4 separate regions of the Homo sapiens genome follow, and all the other regions are linked to region 1. The links are contacts of gene promoters, found by promoter capture Hi-C in human tissues and cell types (Jung and others, 2019). All regions are on one chromosome and are shown on one strand. Each heading gives the region's core, a stretch centred on a gene start or on the middle of the fragment in contact. The rest is flanking DNA. Distances are from core to core; before and after follow the strand shown. Region 1 holds the start of KCNE1 (potassium voltage-gated channel subfamily E regulatory subunit 1). Region 2 holds the start of MORC3 (MORC family CW-type zinc finger 3). Region 3 has its middle 8.2 kb from the start of MIR802. Region 4 holds the start of CBR3 (carbonyl reductase 3).

The links. The method cuts DNA at HindIII sites, captures the fragments that hold promoters and counts their contacts. A contact is called where the count stands out against the background at its distance.
Region 2: the fragment with the promoter of MORC3 here is called in contact with the fragment with the promoter of KCNE1 in region 1 in 1 of the 25 tissues and cell types used here (spleen).
Region 3: a fragment that was not itself captured here is called in contact with the fragment with the promoter of KCNE1 in region 1 in 1 of the 25 tissues and cell types used here (dorsolateral prefrontal cortex).
Region 4: the fragment with the promoter of CBR3 here is called in contact with the fragment with the promoter of KCNE1 in region 1 in 1 of the 25 tissues and cell types used here (spleen).

Annotation. Positions count from the first base shown.
Region 1 is chr21:34,510,826-34,513,996 of GRCh38, forward strand. It overlaps KCNE1 (potassium voltage-gated channel subfamily E regulatory subunit 1), which reads right to left and starts at 1,385. Exons shown (of 4, transcript NM_000219.6): 1 at 1,202-1,385; 2 at 276-490. The HindIII fragment of the contact is 8,709 bases long and covers 1-3,171 here.
Region 2 is chr21:36,318,598-36,321,512 of GRCh38, forward strand. MORC3 (MORC family CW-type zinc finger 3) reads left to right here and starts at 1,600. Exons shown (of 17, transcript NM_015358.3): 1 at 1,600-1,706. The coding sequence starts at 1,668. RefSeq lists a silencer at 1,724-2,183. The HindIII fragment of the contact is 28,282 bases long and covers 1-2,915 here.
Region 3 is chr21:35,727,407-35,730,367 of GRCh38, forward strand. No RefSeq gene overlaps it. Among named protein-coding and RNA genes, the nearest start is that of MIR802, 8.2 kb to the left of the region's middle. The HindIII fragment of the contact is 4,135 bases long and covers 1-2,961 here.
Region 4 is chr21:36,133,188-36,136,328 of GRCh38, forward strand. It overlaps CBR3 (carbonyl reductase 3), which reads left to right and starts at 1,892. Exons shown (of 3, transcript NM_001236.4): 1 at 1,892-2,294. The coding sequence starts at 2,006. The region is part of intron 2 of CBR3-AS1 (CBR3 antisense RNA 1); the gene reads right to left. RefSeq lists enhancers at 1,247-2,054, 2,055-2,861, 2,697-2,866 and silencers at 1,877-1,946, 2,377-2,546. The HindIII fragment of the contact is 7,591 bases long and covers 1-3,141 here.

The DNA of each region.
Region 1 (3,171 bases), core at 135-2,634:
GGCGCTGGGAGGCACTAGGCCATGCCCTGGCCTGAGGCCTTCTCTCTCCCTCTTTGCCCTGTGTCTCTGCAGGGAAGCCCGGCCCTGCCCCTGGGAGGGTGGGGGCAGACGTGTGGAGAGTGGGTGTACAAGGCCAGGGTTTGCCAGGCCCAGGACAGCCTGGCACCTGTCAATGGATGAGCGCCTCTCCCTTAGCCTGATGTCAGGGTGGGCATGAGGGTGGGAGCAGAGGGTGCCTAACTGAGGAAAGGGTCTGTGCAACCCCCTTCTCCTACCAGTTCTCGTTTCTGAAGTCTCCTCAAGCACACTGCGGTGTCCACACCATTGGCAGCAGGCTCCTTCTCTTCAGGTGGTCTTAGGAACTTCTCAGAACTTTTTGAGTTATCCTTCTGGTCTCTTCCTCCTGAGCACGGTTCTCCTGGTTGAGCTCCAGGCCATGCCATTCAACGCCCTCCAGGACAGGCCGAAGGGCTTGTCTGTTTGGTGGTTGCTAAGGTTTGAAAAAAGCCAGCTGGAAACTTAATCCCCAAAGCAACAGTGTTGGGAGGTGGGACCTAATGGGAGGTGTTTAGTCATGAGGGCTCCACCCTTATGAATGGATTCTCTCTCTCTTGTTCTCTCTCTCTCTCTTCCCGCCCCGCCCACCCCTCCTTCCCCAACCTTGTGATACCTTCCACCATGTCATGGCAAGAAGGCCCTTGCCAGATGTGGCCCCTCCATCCTGGGTTCCCAGTCTCCAGAACCATGAGCCAAATGCATTTCTGTCTGTTACAAATTATGTACGGTGTGGTTTTCTGTGATGAACACAGTGCTGTACCAGGGCCCTCTTGCCAAGACAGCCAGCTTATAGGAGCCTGCATGTGAGGCCCGGACGTCCTACAGAGCAGCAGTTAGAGGTCTGGCCTTCTGGATAGGCACTGCCCTGCCCTGCACACAGGACCTTGGTGGGGCATGATGGGGCTCTTCACCACGCTGCCCTCATTTTAGGAGGTGGGCAACCCTTTCTCCCCCTTCTCCATGTGCTTCTGCAGTTGGAAGAAGTGAGGGGGGTTCAGACACACTTAAGCTGAGCTTAGAGCAAAGCATGTCCCTCAAGGTGACCTTGCCGCATGGCCTGAACCTAGAATTCCCCTGACCAGGGTGGACAGCCATCACCATGGGCCTTTCTGCCTGGCCTAGTATGGCTCTCCTTCGAACTCACCTAGACCCTTGCATCAAAGGACTCGGGGACTCTGCTGCAGTCATCCTAGCACGGTCGAGAGGAGTAGGAAGGTGCCCAGCGGCTCAGCCTTTAAGGAGGTCTATTGGTCACCATTGCTTCTGCCTTCTTGAGAACCATCACCCTCGGAGGATCCGGTAGTGTATCCCAGTCAAGTGTCAAATGCGTTGTTCCCTGGAGAGGAAGGCTTATTTCCAGAAAGTACTCTGACGTTTTGTAATTTGTGATTTCTATCACTGGCTCAGTGGCCTACCCACTGCTCAGCTCATGTGGCATGACCAGGCTGGGGCGTCGGGTCATCTTGTTCTCTGGGTGTGTGGCAACACTGGTTTATGGCGTAATTTCCTTCCTGAGAAGAAATTCAGTAATTTCTAATATTCAGGGCTTTAGGTAGAGGCCTGAAAATCACTCTCCATGCCTCTTTCAGTATTTTATATATAGTTGTCTCTTGGTATCCATGGGGTTTGGTTCCAGAATCCCCTGCAGATACCAAAATTTGCGAATGTTCAAGTCCTTTATATATAGTGGCATAGTATTTGCATATAACCTATGCATATCAGCCAATCATAGATGGTGATTTAAATCATCTCTTGATTACTTCTAACACCTAATACTATGTAAATGCTTTGTAAGTAGTTGTTACCTGGCATTTTTTTATTTGTTTTATTTTTGTTGTTGTTTCATTAATTTTATTTTATTTTTGGAATATTTTCAGTCCATTGTTGGTTGAATCCACAGATGCAGAAGCCTTAGACACAGAGGGCCGACCACACCTATGTATGCTGTTCTTAAAGTAGCAACATATTTGTTCTGAACATAGAAGAAATTAGTCGTCTATTAGACTTTAAGGGAGTAAATATGGTCCAAGTTGATTTTTAAATTTAGCAAATAGTCATAGACATATCAGTGTCTTACAGAAAATATTTATTGGAATGCTCACTCTCTCATTTGGGATACTGCTTTGCCTTGCTGTGTCTTAAGAATGTCATCAGAGCATCACACACTTGAAAAACGTTTTTAAAAGGATATGATGATAATTAAGACCTTCTCCCCAACCCCTGCCCATTATCCAAGATCAATGTTTTTTTCCTTTATCCTGATTTTAAAATCAAGTACACTTTATTGAGGCATACTTTACATGAAGCAAAATGTACCCTTTCTAAATATGATAAGTTTGATGAGTTTTCAACAGATGTATACAGCTGTTACCATGACTGTGTCTTTACCCAGGTTCTTGCATTGCTCAATCCAGATACAGAATGTCTCCATCACCCTGACAAGTTCCTTTGTGCCGCACCCTCTAGCCAATCATCTGTTTTGAGGAGAGTTTTAAAACAAAGGTTTTTGTTCTTTTTCACTGATGACCATAACCTACCACAGACAGGGTCTCTCTCTCTCTCTCTCTCTCTTTTTCCCTGTTCTTGCGCCAGCTGCCTGACAATTTGTGGGATTAAAGCTCTAAGCTGCTTACTGGCTCTTCTGACTAGGGAGAGGGAGCAAGCCTCATTATTTTTCTATTCTTTTCAGTGACTGCTCACTCCTCTTCCTCCAAAATCCCTATCCATCCATCCATCCATCCATCCATCCATCCATCCATCCATCCATCCAACTTTCCATCTACCCATCTATCCTTCCATCTATCCAATCCACTTGCGTGTTGAACGTCTACTATGAGCCATTGGCTACCAGGAATCCCACTTCCACCCAAATTATGTTTCAACAGGGAAGACAAACAATTTAACAATTACGATAAAAAAGAAAATATGCCATACAATGGAAAAGAAGGGGGCATGATGGGAGACCCAGCGGGAGTAGCTGGCAACGATTCTTAGGGGGAAGAGACATTCCTAATAGACACCTGCAGGAGAAATATTAAAGAGTCAATCATTTCAGTAGCGCTTATTGTGACCAATAATGCAAGAAGTTTCTGGGTTCCCAGGCTGATGGGTTTG
Region 2 (2,915 bases), core at 350-2,849, 1.8 Mb after region 1:
CAAGTAGTCCTCCCCACCTCAGCCTCCCAAGTAGCTGGAACCACAGGCGTGCGCCCCCAAGCACAATTAATTTTTTTTTTTTTTTGAGATGGAGTTTCGCTCTTGTTGTCCCGGCTGGAGTGCAGTGGTGTGATCTTGGCTCACCGCAACCTCCACCTCCTGGGTTCAAGTGATTCTCCTGCCTCAGCCTCTCCAGTAGCTGGGATTACGGGCATGTGCCACCACACCCGGCTAATTTTGTATTTTTAGTAGAGATGGGGTTTCGCCATGTTGGTCAGGCTGGTCTCAAACACCCGACCTCAAGTGATCTGCCCGCCTTAGCCTCCCAAGGTGCTGGGATTACAGGTGTGAGCCACCACGCCCTGCCAGCTAATTCAATTTTTTTTTTGTAAAGATGAGGTCTCCTCGTGTTGCCCAGGCTCGTCTCGAACTCCTGGGTTCAAGAGACCCTCGCAATGTAGCCTCTCAAAGTGCTGAGATTACAGACATGAGCCACTGCACCCAGCCAATTTCTCTTTCTAAAAATAATTAATTTTTTTGAGACAGTCTCACTCTGTCGCCCAGGCTGGAGTACAGTGGCGCGATCTGGGCTCACTGCAACCTCCTTGTCCTGGGTTCACCCACTTCTCCTGCCTCAGCCCCCCGAGTAGCTGGGATTACAGGCGCCCACTAATATGCCCAGCTAATTTTTGTATTTTTAGTAGAGATGGGGTTTCACCATGTTGGCCAGGCTGGTCTTGAACCCCTATCAAGTGAACCCCCAACCTCGACCTCCCAATGTGTTGGGATTATAGGCATGAGCCACTGCACCGGCCTTATGCCTTTAGGACTCTTATTTATTTATTTTGAGACGGAGTTTCACTCTTGTTGCCCAGGGTGGAGTGCAATGGCGCAATCTCGGCTCATTGCAACCTCCGCCTCCTGGGTTCAAGCATTCTCCTGCTTCAGCCTTCCGAGTAGCTGGGATTACAGGCATGTACCACCACGCCCGGCTAATTTTGTATTTTTAGTAGAGATGGGATTTCTCCATGTTGGTCAGGCTGGTCTCGAACTCCCGAAGTCAGGTGATCCGCCCGCCCACCTCGGCCTCCCAAAGTGCTGGGATTACAAGCGTGAGCTACCGCGCCCGGCCCCAGAACTCTTTTTTTTTTTTTTAAATCATGAGTTAGATTGATAGTTTTCAGGGCAAATCCAAACAGTCTACATTAATTTCCGTCTTTATTTCGTTAAGGTTTCACATGGACACTGGTGGATATGGAATGGCTTTTTTCTGCGCAATTCACATCCGACCAGGTCAAGTGACTGGAGTTCACCGGTCTCGGGTATACCGCATCTCGCGCCAGGCTTCAAACTCTAGATCCCCGAGTCTCGAGCTCCAGCTGGGTGTCGAGACGGGTACGGGCCGGCCGCGCCTCGCGCATGCGCCCTAGGCCCGCAGGGCCCCGCGCTGGAAGCTCAGCTCCCACTGTACCCTGCTTTAACCAGTCAGGCAATTCATCTTCCCCAAGCTCCCAATTCGGCATTGCCTGGAGGCGGAAGTGGGTGGGAGGGGCCAGACGTGCGCCCCTCCCCGGAAGTGGGCGGTACCCATAGGGCTCCACAGTCGTTCCGCCACCTCCCAGTCGGGTTGCGGCGGAGGCCGTTCCTGGCTTTGTAGCTCGCTCAAGATGGCGGCGCAGCCACCCCGCGGGATACGCCTCAGCGCGGTGAGCAGCCGCGAGGGGTGGAGCGGGCCGTGTCCCAGGAGGGCGGGCGGGCAAGCGAAGGGGGGCCGGCAGTGGGCGGTGGCGGCTTGTGGGGCCGACGCGGCGGCGGGGGCTGCGGCGGGGCCCGGGGAGGGGGCGGCCATCTCGCTCCCGTCGGCGGAACAGCTCGGCTGCGGGCCGGGCTGCGTTCCGTCGCCTCTGCATTGTGTTTCTGTTTTGCTTCGGGGCGGGCCAGGGTCGCGGCTCCTCCTCCCAGCTCCCTCCTAGTCTCCCAGCAGCTGTCGTCCGCGGGCGAGGCCTCGGCGGGAGATCGGTCTGCTCTCGGGGCCGCGGGGCCCCTGACCCTCTTCTGTCCGCTGGGCGTCGTGGTGGGAGGGAGCGGGTTCCGCGTCCAGAAACGCCGGCGGCCTCGACGTCCCGGGGGCGGGGGGACGGGGCTGCGGGCCTGCCTGCGGGCGAGTGGAGTCAGGATGAGTGTGCCTGATGCCTGTCAGTGCCTGCAGCTTCCTTGGCAGTGGAAGCCTTGGGGCCCAGACCCTAGATCGCTGAGCTCGAGCTCTCCTCTTTATCCCGCGTTGCGTCTGTTTTGGGGCGTTTCGAGTTCTTGGAAACCCTGTGAACATTTCTTGTATCTTAAATCGTAGGGAGCGGTCACACAAGATAACTTGAAATCTCACGTCCAGGAAATGTGGGCGTGGCTTCCCCACCTGATTATCCTAAAAAACTTTTCTACCTTGTGAGCGCAGTTGATGTTATGCTGAAATGTTCCTCTTTTCTGGAGGTTGTTGACTTTTGCCAAAGAATGACTGCCCTAGTGCCACTAATTTTAACATTCGAATGGGTAGTGACTCCTTGGGGTACAAACACGTAGTGAATAATTGGTGCATTGCTCTGGGACTTTCATTCGTTTAGGCAGATTCTAACACCTGGTTTTGACGGACTTTAAATTTTTTCTAGTCCGATATTTGTGAAATGATATTTGCTTTTACTTGCGTTTCCTTGACTGTTTGTGTTGTTGAGCTCTTCGCATGTATTAGTCTTTGTGGTTTTTTGTTTTGTTTTTTTGAATTGCCTATTCATATCCTTTGACCATTTTCTGTTTTTCTTTTGGGAGGATCTTTATTGATTTGTAAGAGTTCTTTACGTATTCTGGATAAAGGTCCATCCTTTCGTTATGTAACTAGCTTATTGAGTGAGCTAGGCTTTAGT
Region 3 (2,961 bases), core at 380-2,879, 1.2 Mb after region 1:
CAGCCCATTTTTGGTCCTATTATAGTTCTACCTTTTTTATAAATGATAAACTGATAACGGCTTCAAGAAACAAGTAAACTTTGAAAGATTGCAAAGGAACCCTTCCCTTAACCCTCCTCCATCTCCCCTCCATAATTCACCTTATTTTCCAGAGCCTGCTCTCCTCAACTACCTCATTCCAATTTACTATATGTTGGCTTCTGAAGAAAGCCAACGTTTGGAAGCCAATGTGTGGTAAATTGCTCATTGCTAACTGAGGTGTATTTAAGTTTGCATAGTGACTATTATGAGCAGTATTTCATACATTCTTAGCAGTCAGAGAAGCCTTCCTGCGAACGACCACCACTCTTCTACCTCTTTTTCCCCTCCTCTCCCACCCATGCACACATCCCTTTCTGTTTATGGAATTCATAAAAACATGTAGCAAGCTGAATCTAAAAAGTCCCTGGTCCCTTCTAAAGAAGTCTGTTATAAAGAGTGGAAGAAACAGCCAAAGAAGCTATTGCCAATGAAAAGAGAGACCTCGAACCTTAATATTGTTTCCCATGTCTTTGCTCAACACTTTGGAAGAGATTTTATGGGTTTTGTTTTTCCAGTACAGTTGACTCTTGCACAATATGGGTATGAACTATGCAGGTTCATTTATACAGACTCTTTTTCAGTAAAAGTTACACTGAACATGCCTCCTCTCCTGACCTCCCTTCCACCTCCTCCATCTCTGCTGCCTCTGCCCCTCTTGAGACAGCAAGGCCAACCCCTCCACTTCCTCCTCCTTATCAGCCTACTCGACATGAACATGATGAAGATGAAGACCTTTATGATGATCCACTTCCACTCAATGAATAGTAAATGTATTTCATCCACCTTTTTCTTAATAACATTTTCTCTTCTCTAGCTTACTTTATTGTGAGAATGCAGTACATAATATATATATATAACATACAAAATATGTGCTAATTGACTGTCTGTGTTATCAGCAAGGCTTCCAGCCAACAGTAGGCTATTGGTTAAGTTTTTGAGGAGCAGGCTATTGGTGAAGTTATACATGGATTTTCAACTGCATTGGTGGAGGAGGGGGGTCAGCATCCCTAATCACCACATTGTTCAAGGATCAACTATAATTTCTTTGCTGTGCCCAAAATTTGAGAGGTACTTATAACTGCTGGTAGAATTTTTCCTGTGTAAAAATAGGTGGCATTTGTCTGAGAAAACCAAACCTGGGAAAGCACAGATTCAATCTGAATTCCAAAAGGGTGTGCTTTCCCATCTGTACACTAAAAGATTTCCCTGTAATTCCATTTGCTGGTGACTGCACATTTTTCAAATTAAACTTGAGGAAGGAAGAGAACACTTGTCCTTGAGAAGTTTATAGCAACAGAAGCACCAGAATAGAAACTTTAGATAACTTAGAAAAATTAAACACCTCTAAACAGCACCCCAAAAAAGTTAGCCATTTTTAAGATATGAACATTTTATTTTTTCTTAATTAGAGCATTGAATATCATAAGTAGATCAAGTGTGTTTGCTCCTGTTATTAAGAGCAAGAAAGGAAGATTGGCCAGGCATGGTGGCTCATGCCTGTAATCCCAACACTTTGGGAGGCCGAGACGGGTGGATCACTTGAGGTCAAGAGTTCAAGGCCAGCCTGACCAACATGGTGAAACCCCGTCTCTACTAAAAACACAAAAATTAGCTGGGCGTGGTGGCAGGCACCTGTAATCGCAGCTACTCGGGAGGCTGAGGCAGGAGAATCACTGGAACCGGGGAGGTGGAAGTTGCAGTGAGCCAAGATCGCGCCATTGCACTCCAACCTGGGCCACAGAGTGAGACTTTGTCTCCAAAAAAAAAAAAAAAACAGATTATCCTTTTAGTGCTTGAAAGTGCTCTGCCCTTTAAAAAATATACCTTACAGAGACTAGAGACATATAACTAAATACAATCTTAGACTGAGTCCTTATTGAAGGAAAAAAAGTGTTATAAGTACATTGTTGGGTCAATTAACAAAACTGGAATATGGACAGTAAATAAGAGTATTATATTGAGGCAAAATTTACCAAAGTTGATAAGCGTACTACAGCTGTGCAAAAGAATAAATATTCCTAGTCTTAGGAAATACACTCTGAGGGATTTAGGGGTAAAGGGCCATGGTGTACGCAACTTGCTTGCAAAGGAGACAAATATATTTTTTCTATGTTATGCATACATGTATATGTGTATGTATGGAAAGAGAGAGCAAATGATAAAGCCAATGGAATAAAATGTCCACAACAGGTGATTCTGGATAAAGGGTATTTGTTGTGCTTCTCAATATTTTTACTATTGCAATTTTTCTGTAATTTGAAATGAGTTCCACACTAGAAGTTTAACAAATATACACCTTACAGTTTGAAATTATGTTTTAAAGAAAAGTTGGAAAGCGGAGAGACAAAAGGGGGAAAAAAACAGGTAAAAAATTAATTTCGGGAAAATAATTATCCACACATCTAGGTGGCTTCTTCCCATCTTCTGAGACAGGTCAGCATCATAGATGCCTACTGTACTCCAGTCCTCAGCCTCATTCTTATCTCTCCAGTCTTCCTGATCAGGAAATAGCTTCAAAGGTCAGCCAGGTTGGCTCAAAAAATCCACAGACAAAATGGGTGAAAATGAGTATCTTGGAAATGGTGTGTTGCATCCTCTTGGTCCTGAGCACTCTGCCTCCTCGTGCTGCTCCTGGAGCCACCACTGAATCAGGCAAACACATTTCTTTTCTTTCATTTTTTTTTGTTTTGGTTTGGTTTGGTTTTTGGTTTTTGATTTTTGTTTTTTTTTTTTGTTTTTTTTTTGAGACAGAGACTTGCTCTGTTGCCCAGGCTGGAGTGCCATGGTGTGATCCTGGCTCACTGCAACCTCTGCCTCCCGAGTTCAAGTGATTCTCCTACCTCAGCCTCCCAAGTCACCGGGCTAAAGGTGCCCACCACC
Region 4 (3,141 bases), core at 642-3,141, 1.6 Mb after region 1:
ATACCAGCACTTTGAGAGGCCAAGGAGGGAGAATCGATGTAGCCCAGGAGTTCAACCAGTCTGAGCAACACAGTGAGACTCCCATCTCTAAAAACAAATAAAAATAAAATAAAATAAAAAATTATCCAGGCAGGCCGGGTGTGGTGGCTCACGCCTGTAATCCCAGCACTTTGGGAGGCCAAGGCGGGTGGATCACGAGGTCAGGAGTTCGAGACCAGCCTGGCCAACATGGTGAAACCCTGTATCTACTAAAAATACAAAAATTAGCTGGGTGTAGTGGCAGCGCCTGTAATCCCAGCTACTCAGGAGCCTGAGGCAGGAGAATCGTTGGAACCCAGGATTCGGAGGTTGCAGTGAGCCAAGATCGTGCCACTGCACTCCAGCCTGGGTGACAGAGCAAAACTCCGTCTCAAAAAAAAAAAAAAAAAAAAAATTATCCAGGCATGACTGTGGCACACTTGTAGTCCCAGCTACTAGGGAGGCTAAAGGGGAGGATCACCTGAGCTCAGGAGACTGACGCTACAGTGAGCCACGACTGCAGCACTGCACTCCAGCCTGGGCGACAGAGAAGACCCTATTAAAAAAAAAAAAAAAAAAAAAAAAAACAGAAATAGAAAGCCTAAATAGCCCCATATCCTTAAAACAAGGTTCCAAATGATCTTTTTTTTTTTTTTTGAAAAGTCTCACTCTGTTGCACAGGTTGGAGTGCAGTGGTGCAATCTCGGTTTACTGCAACCTCCGCCTCCCGGGTTCAAGCAGTTCTCCTGCCTCAGCCTCCTAAGTAGCTGGGATTACAGGCACGTGCCACCACACCCAGGTAATTTTTGTATTTTTAGTAGAGATGGGGGTTTCACCATGTTGGTCAGGCTGGTCTTGAACTCCTGACCGCGTAATCCACCCGCCTCAGCCTCCCAAAGTGCTGGGATTACAGGTGTGAGCCACCGCGCCCGGACCAAATGATCTTTAGGAGAAAAAAGAAGGAAATACTGGGGGAGGCACAGTAGGAGATCACAGCAGGGGCCCACCTCCGGAACCTCAAGTAAGGACTTGAGAGAGAAGGTAGAGTCAGAGTAACAGAGACACAGGCGGGTTAGCCAGCTCTGCATGGAAAAGGCTGAGTCGTGATGATGTCATGGTTCTCCCCAAATCTCAAAGTCACTGATCAAACAACTCAGTTTACACTGAAGACGATGGATGAGACTCTAATTTTGTGCCCACAGCTTGACACACCTTTGGGAATTTGGTTTAACTTTCTTTGCCGGTACACAGATCTGTGAGAACATATGATCAATCCAGATCTTTATAGATCTATATCCTCCCTGGACAAACCTAAATGCAGACACTTTTAGCACCCGTAGGAGTTAGGTAGGATTAAATAAAAACATTCCCTCCCACTTGGGGGCACATTCACTGGGAATCCCAGAGCGATGTCGCCTGCCCACACCTGCTAAGTGCGCTCACAGGGCATCTAGTTCCCTCTCTTGAGTTCCTTTTAAGCAAGCAAGGCAACCTATGTCCAGAGAAGCAGTTACTGTGTCTAAGTAAGTCACTGCATCTTAGGAAAAAGCAAACATTCGCATTTTGCAGTGCATGATGGGCGCACACCCAAGAAAATTACTCAGCACTTGTTTTTCTCACTTTGGGGTTTTCCCAAAATAATTTCTTCAGTCCAGTTGCCAAGAATCTGGAGCCCCCGACTGACCCATCAAGGTCCGATTTGGCTTCGGACACCTCGCAGATCACCCCGCGGCTCAGAGCCCGGATCCTGAAGGGCGCAGCGTGGGCAGGGGGCGGGCCCGGGAGTTGGAACAGAGGGCACAGACGGCCCCTCCTCGGAGGGGAGGGACCGGAGCCGGGGCCTTTTTCTTTAAGACTCGCAGCACTGGATCCCAGAACTTAGTCTGCGCGGCGGCATTGACACTAGCTGGGCTCCTCGGGGCGCGCCCCAGGTGGTCCGAAGCCCGGTCCGCCCTCCACGCAGGTGCCCCGCGCTCCCCGCTCAGCCATGTCGTCCTGCAGCCGCGTGGCGCTGGTGACCGGGGCCAACAGGGGCATCGGCTTGGCCATCGCGCGCGAACTGTGCCGACAGTTCTCTGGGGATGTGGTGCTCACCGCGCGGGACGTGGCGCGGGGCCAGGCGGCCGTGCAGCAGCTGCAGGCGGAGGGCCTGAGCCCGCGCTTCCACCAACTGGACATCGACGACTTGCAGAGCATCCGCGCCCTGCGCGACTTCCTGCGCAAGGAGTACGGGGGGCTCAACGTACTGGTCAACAACGCGGCCGTCGCCTTCAAGAGTAGGTGCAGGGCTTGGGTTGGGGCCCCCTGGAGCGCTCCGAGGGTGCGGAGGTGGCCAGCCGCAGGCTCCCCACCCGTCCACTTGAGTGACCGAGGAGGGTGGCGCCGACCCCTAGGGATGCGCTCAGCCCACGCCTCCCGCGAGGCGGTTTTCGCTTTCCGTGATTCGCTGAGCCCCAGGCGGGCCCGGGCGACAAACAGCGCGCCCCGCCCGCCGGCCTGTGAGGGCCTGTGCGCGGCCCGGGGCCCTCCCCGAACTGTCAGCCGCTGTTGTGTGCAGGAAAACTGGCCTCCTGGGAGGGGGCAACGCCCTGCTAGAGTTCATCAGCTTTCCTTCCAACGCGAGAAACATTTTCTCTGCAAAGAAACGGTCTCCGCTCGCTTTGGGCTTTCGCTTTCCTTGAAAGGGCGCATTCATAGATGCCCGGAGGCATTTGCTCGGGAAAGGAAATGAATCGCTAAAACAGGATTAGCGCGCGCTTGCCCTTGGTGGACTTGACAATTTGTGTAATGCAGAGCTTTGATAGGCTCTGGCAAAAAGGAAGCGAGCCTTCTCGTTCCCCCACCCCCGCCCGGGGAGCTTATGTTTGTTATAAAATACGTGCGTGTGGTCTTAAAAGCATCTTCCTTAAGGAGAGGGGCGGGGATCAAGAGATTGCTTATTCTAACTACTACTGAAGAAAATTACAGGAGGGCGCAGTGGCTCACGCCTGTAATGCCAGCACTTTGGGAGGCCGAGGCAGGAGAAACGCTTGAACCTGGGAGGCAGTGAGCCGAGATCGCGCCACTGCACTCCAGACTGGGAGACAGAGCGAGACTCCGTATGAAAAAAAAAAAAAAGTTACT